Linked DNA regions of Homo sapiens: region 2 is linked to region 1. Evidence: promoter capture Hi-C in human tissues and cell types (Jung and others, 2019). All regions are on one chromosome and are shown on one strand. Each heading gives the region's core, a stretch centred on a gene start or on the middle of the fragment in contact. The rest is flanking DNA. Distances are from core to core; before and after follow the strand shown. Region 1 holds the start of PTPRD (protein tyrosine phosphatase receptor type D). Region 2 has its middle 230 kb from the start of TYRP1.

Region 1 (3,050 bases), core at 409-2,908:
ATTTGGCAGTGATAAAGAAAAAAATGCTGAAATGTTATTGATTCTCTCCCTCTTGTGCAAAACAAACTGAGTCAACTATATTTTTCCTGACATAACACAAAGGTTTTATTTAGATATTACAAAATATTGGCAAATGTTAGACTACATGTTTTTTATATATATGTATAATGAACTTATTAACCCTTTTGTAGAAAGAAGAGTGTCCTACTTCTGTAAAAAGAAATGCTACAGCTACTGACATGGTGATGTTAGCCCCAAGAGGAATACTGCCTGCAAAAGTTTTTGATGCAGAGATATTCAGCCTTAGGAGACACCTTAAACCTGTCACTGGCTGCTGAGCCCTGTCAGAGTTTATAACCCGCTGTGTCAAAGTCACAGTCTCAGCCCTGCCCTCTCCAAAGTATTTTTCACATTCTCTCTCCAAATTAAGTTCATTCTAATTCTCCAACTATTCTAGTTCCAGGATTTTCCTCCAATTATTATCTCCTTACAGGCATGAAGAAATCGCAACAGAATTTTCATCTGGTCTTTCAAACCATCCTTATTAACTTTCCCTTTTCCGCCCCCCCCCCCTTTTTTTTTCTAGAGCTTTTCAGAACTAAAGATAAAACAACCAACCAACTGAAGTCAGAGTAGGGTGGGAGTTAGCATGGATTAGGGCTGAGGTTGAAGGTGGCAGGAGAAGTGAGCCAGTAGGGTTAGATTTTTCAAGCTTTTTCTAGATAACCACCCTTAAATCTTAGAACCAACCAATGTTTAACAAAGCAGGCTTCCAATAGCCCTTGAACAATAAACGTTTAAAAATCAGTTTTCCAGTAAGGCTGCCCATACTGATCCCATATCGAAGTCTTCTAAGGGCTCTTCCAAAAAAAAAAAAAAAAGAAAAAAATGCTTAGCGAACCACTTCTCAAATAGGAGCTACTGAAGTTATATAAGTCAAGTTATTCCCAGGTAAAATGAATAAACTGTCCACAGCATTGGACATTGGGCATTGAAAAGCATCAGCATATGCTTCACTTTAGAGAAAAGAAAGACAGAAGCACAGTTTACTTACTAAAGCAGCCGCTCCAGTCCTCCTTGGAAACCCTGAGGAGTCTTCTCTTTTCTTTCCTACCAGTCAAATAAAGAATTGTCTTTCTATTCCACACAGGCCCAGAATAAACTGCAAAAAGGGATGGCACATGCACAGCAGCCCGTCAGGGTTTGGCTTTGGTGGGGTGCTTCGATTTCTGATTGTTTCAAAAGTGGGATCTTCTTTTCCGGAGGGAGGGGGCAAAGGAAGAAAAAGAAAGCGCGCTCGGAAAGCCGGCTTGGGTCCTGCTAATTATTCTGAAGGCAAAGTACCTGCACTCTCCCCGCCGAGGCTGGCTGGCGGCGCCGCGCCGGAGGGGAGGAGGCTCGGGAGGAGGAGGAGAAAGAGCAGCGGGAGGACTCGGGCTGGGAGGGGAGCGCAGGGTTGGGGAGGCCGATGAGCGGCTCCCGGCTCCTCGGAGAAGCAGCCGAGACGGCAAGGAGGAGGCGAGGCTCTGTCGGGGCGAGGCGCTGCCCCCACGCGCTCCGGCCGCCGGCTGCGGGCGCGGCTGGGCGGGGAGCCGAGGCGGCCGCTCCCGCACTCGCTCGCTCGCTCGCTGGCGCTCCCTCCTCGTCTCGCTCGCACTCACAGGCACACACCCCACGTCTCCAGCAGCTGCCGCTCGGCCTCACGCACTCACCTGCATTTCCTTAACGAGCCACTTGATGGCTGCCAGCGGCGTGGGCCCCGCTCCGGCGGGCGGGGGCCGGGGCGGGGAGAACGCGGCGCGGGATGCTCCGAGCGCCCGCTGGGGAGAGAAGCGGCGGCGGCGGCGGCGCTGCGGGCGCGCCAGATGGGGCGGGAGGAGGGGAGACCCGGCACCCACCGGCCCAGAGCTGCCTGACGCGGCCTGGGCGGACCCCGCCGCCCGGGTGCCTAGGCACGATTCCAGGGATCCAGGGTAAAGCGGTTCGCGCGGGAACAGGAGGATATGTCAGGCACAGGCTATTCCCCATCACTATAGCCACAGAGGACTGGTCCAGATGCGGATCCCGATCTGTGCTTCTTCAGGTGTTCGCGTGCTTTCGGTTATTATTATTATTATTATTTTCCGAGGGAGGCTGTCGGTAACACCTAAGGGGTAGTGGGTGTTAATAGCTGGGGGACGTACATTTGATTTGCAATGGAATCGATGCTTATGAAGAGCAGACTTAGGGAGGTGAAGGGCAGGGGCACAGGGGTTGCTTGGCGGAGGGGGTGTACTTCGGCTGAGCTGGATGGAGTTTTCAGTCGGGGCGCTTGGCAGTCTGGCTGGGCTTGAGGGAGGGATAGAGCTCTGCCAAGGTGGTAGCTGAGAAGGGAAAACCTGTACAAGAGTTGCTGAGAATATGCCTCGCTGCAGAGGAGAGGACATGGATGCAGGGAGCGGATTCTTCCCCACCTCCTCCTTACCCCAAGGTAGAGTGGGGTATCGGAGTGCATCAGATGTGGTGTACCACAGACTCGGGAGACAGGGGAGGAGGAACTTAGACCCCCAGCGAAACTAGAAATAAGGTTTGGAGCTGGGGGGAGAAGAAGGGGCAGGATGAGAGAAAAACAGCAGGAAGCTTTTTGTCATTTTACTATCTTTCATGTCTCATCAGAGCATACAGCTATAGGCAACAAATGCTCTGTCTCTTGATAAACAGAGAGCAATGTCACCATGTCGGTGCGTTTTCTAAAAAGCCAAAATAATTATCCTGTTTGTAATATGCAACACAGAGCATTCCAGGTACCATCTGGTCAAAGGTTCTGTAAGCACTGTAGAAGAAAACAAATAAAAAAAGAACAACGAAAAACCAGTTATCCATCTACTTTCCTTATATGTCAATGATCTAATCGCAGAAATGTCACTTTCTCCCGAAGAGAAATAAAGCTTAGTCACTATAGGTGGAATTTTCCCCAGGGTCCCTTCACCTTTTTCTTTTCATACCTTCTCCACTGCTTGCTGTGTCCCTTTGCTCTTTAAAAGGGACCCTTCTCCTGAACCCACGCGCTG
Region 2 (3,050 bases), core at 365-2,864, 1.9 Mb after region 1:
TCATTCAAATAATTTCATGTGATAAGAGAAAAGAACCTTGCAGTAAAGTCAGCACACCTGGCCTCTCTCCAATGCTGATCTTTCACAAACTTGAAAGAAGTTCAATTGCAATTTCAAGTTTTCTAAAGTAAACACTAAGAAAAGAGTGGTCAGGGCCTTATAACATTTAGGGGCTAAATGTTACAGGTAATGATAGAAAATATATATATTTTTTTCAGTTTCCAAATGGTTATTCTATCAGATTGTTTGAACATTAAATTTATCCTGTTTGCAATCCAAAATAGTTACCAGAAATTTGCTGTTTTGTGTGTATGCGTGTGTTTACTTTTATTGTTTTTCTAAACTCTTTGGCATGATTTTCGGGGGGTGTTCAGACTGCCACAATACTAGTTAGGAGAGGACATTTTCTTTGTGCTGCCAATTTTGATCATTTAAATTTTGGTTTGTTTGGGTTGTGACTTTTTTGTTTTTGAAGTCACCAGACACTACTACTGCAGTTTTCTTTCTCTCTTTTTTTCCTCTCTCTTCTTTCTTTCTTTCTCTTTCTTTTTTCTTTCTTTCCTTCTTCCATCCTTCCTTTCCTTCTTCCATCCTTCCTTTCCCTCCTTCTTCCATCCTTCCTTTCCCTCTTTCCCTTCCTCCTTCTTTCCTTCCTCCCTCCCTCCTTCCTTCCTTCCCTCCCTCTCTCCTTCCTTCCTTCCCTCCCTCCCTCCTTCCTTCTTTCTTTCCCTCTCTCCCTCCTTCTCTCCTTTCCTCCCTCCCTCCTTCCTTCCTTTCTCCCTCCCTCCCTCTTCCCTCTCTCCCTCTCTTCTTCCTTCCTTCTTTCCTTTCTCCCTCCCTCTCTCCCTCTCTCCCTCTCTTCTTCCTTCCTTCTTTCCTTTCTCCCTCCCTCTCTCCCTCTCTCCCTCTCTTCTTCCTTCCTTCTTTCCTTCCTTCTTTCCTTTCTCCCTCCCTCTCTCCCTCTCTCCCTCCCAGTAAGAATTGTGTTAGGTAATCTTGTATTATCCCTTATCACTCACAAAACCTCTGCTCTCTAGAAAATCTTATTGAATTGGAGAAGTTCCAGTTCCTCAAGTGGGTGGGAGATTGACCACTGTAGAAACCTAATGTTATGGCAGTTGAAAAAATGATCCAAAAGCCCTCTCATCTCTGATACATTTCCCTAATCTTGATACATTTTTTAACAAGTGTTGTTTTTATTCTTTTAATTTTAAGCTTAATTCTGCTCAAAGTTTCTATGATTCAGAAAAGAGCTGCCAAGATACTGTTCCAAAGAAAATACGTTTTTGTAGCTTGTGTGGGAATACTTCCAAAAGGTAAAGTAGATTCCTCTGGAAAAGACAGTATCAAAATTCTCCAGATGCCTGGAGCTCTAAGCCCATTATTGCATTCCACGTGCTGCTAGTAGCATAACAAAGTCAATCAGTACCCTTTGGTCAATAATCCTCCCAACTATTAACAGGAAAAAACTGTGAGCTTGTAAATGAAATATCTTGAGCTAGATAAGGTGCTCATTATCATGAGAGGAGCAATTTGCATGTTAGCATGGGGGAAATATGATAGGGTTTTAAAAACCCTCTTCACTCTCACAGTCAACTAGATTGTAAAGGACGTAATCATTGCCTCTTTTCTGTAAATTGCATTTAATAATTTTGCATTTTCCCCACAACTTTCCACTAAAAGGCAGAGATAACGAATAAAGGATTTTAAAAAGTAAGCAAAGGTTTCTTTCAAGTTTAATTTTCATCAGTTTTCTATTATATACAATGCAGAGGTAGATGTTTCTTGCTTGCTGGGAGTGGTGGGGAAGCTCCTATTTAAACATAATGAAATCTCAGAGGTGGTAGATAAACTATAATTCCCAGAAAAATAAGAGACTACTGTAAAGGCTCAAGGCCAGCAAAAAAAGGTTGTGTTAAAGCCACTGAGTATAGAACAGATCTTTCATAACATGCCATCCCTCATCAAGGTAAAAAGTTGCTTATCAATTTAAAGAGATGGAGTGGAGAGACAGGGAGAGAGAGAAAGCAGCAATGGCTGCTGCTCCTATAATAAGGTGACTAATTGTATGCTATTATCTGTTTGATGGTTTAAGCAGAATAAAGTGACACTGATCTGGAAATGTGAGAATGAAGCAGAACAAGAGAGTGTTTGTAAGAGGAATAATTTCAGGCACCCATGAGGCTTCACGTAAAACTCATTTGCACATAGACAGGGCTCTCTTGTGGATGATGGATAAATGTAATTCCTAGTTACCAGTGTGTCTTTTTTTCTTTTCTCTTTATTTTTTTTTCACCGACAAGGCATTGAAGACAGAAGAATGGAATACGGACAAAAATGGCTTCAAAAATTAGAATAATTTCTAAACTAATTTAAATTTCTAAATGATTAGACAGTGACTGTGTGGACTGTTCCCTCAGGTCACTAACACAGATATTCTTAATAGTCATTCCTGCAATATTCAATAGACGTCAACAATATTGTCCAATCAAGCTAAAAAAAAATGTGAAAATGGGCTGTGAGTTTTACTCAATACTTGAAAGCTTTCAATTAAGTTTTACATAAGAGAAAACATACATGAACTTTAATCTTTTAAGCAAATTCTTACTGAAAAGGAGAAAGGGGGACAATTTTAAAACAAGAAAGATCAAAGCCAATTCAAGATGTACGAGCGCCATCTGGTGTCCATAATAAAAATGCTATCAGTTTTTAGCAGTCAAACTCCCCTTTTGTGGGCTTTGTAGTGCAAAAGGGTTATGGTACAAAGAGTAATTCTTGAAATGGGATTTACTCTATGTCTAATACCCAGATGTTACTATTTACTATTTGTTTTTAGAGTAAACTAACCTAAGGAAGTGAAGTTGGTTGAAGCAGTGGGTTTGCTGTTAACACATATGTTCAAACATTTCAGCAAAAATAATTCATGTTTCAACTAGAGAATTCACATAATTGCTGCAGTTCTCCACTCTAATTTACTTAAGCAAACCTTCCTTGATACAGGAAAAGTGTTTCTATACTTTCAGAAGCAATGCCTGTGTAAAAATATTGGA

The links. Contacts are between HindIII fragments. The study calls those that stand out against the background at their distance.
Region 2: a fragment that was not itself captured here is called in contact with the fragment with the promoter of PTPRD in region 1 in 1 of the 25 tissues and cell types used here (dorsolateral prefrontal cortex).

Annotation. Positions count from the first base shown.
Region 1 is chr9:10,611,344-10,614,393 of GRCh38, forward strand. It overlaps PTPRD (protein tyrosine phosphatase receptor type D), which reads right to left and starts at 1,659. Exons shown (of 46, transcript NM_002839.4): 1 at 1,345-1,659; 2 at 1,055-1,162. It overlaps PTPRD-DT (PTPRD divergent transcript), which reads left to right and starts at 1,863. Exons shown (of 3, transcript NR_110696.1): 1 at 1,863-2,083. RefSeq lists a silencer at 1,604-1,813. The HindIII fragment of the contact is 2,966 bases long and covers 1-2,773 here.
Region 2 is chr9:12,462,428-12,465,477 of GRCh38, forward strand. No RefSeq gene overlaps it. Among named protein-coding and RNA genes, the nearest start is that of TYRP1, 230 kb to the right of the region's middle. RefSeq lists an enhancer at 820-1,319. The HindIII fragment of the contact is 4,232 bases long and covers 1-3,050 here.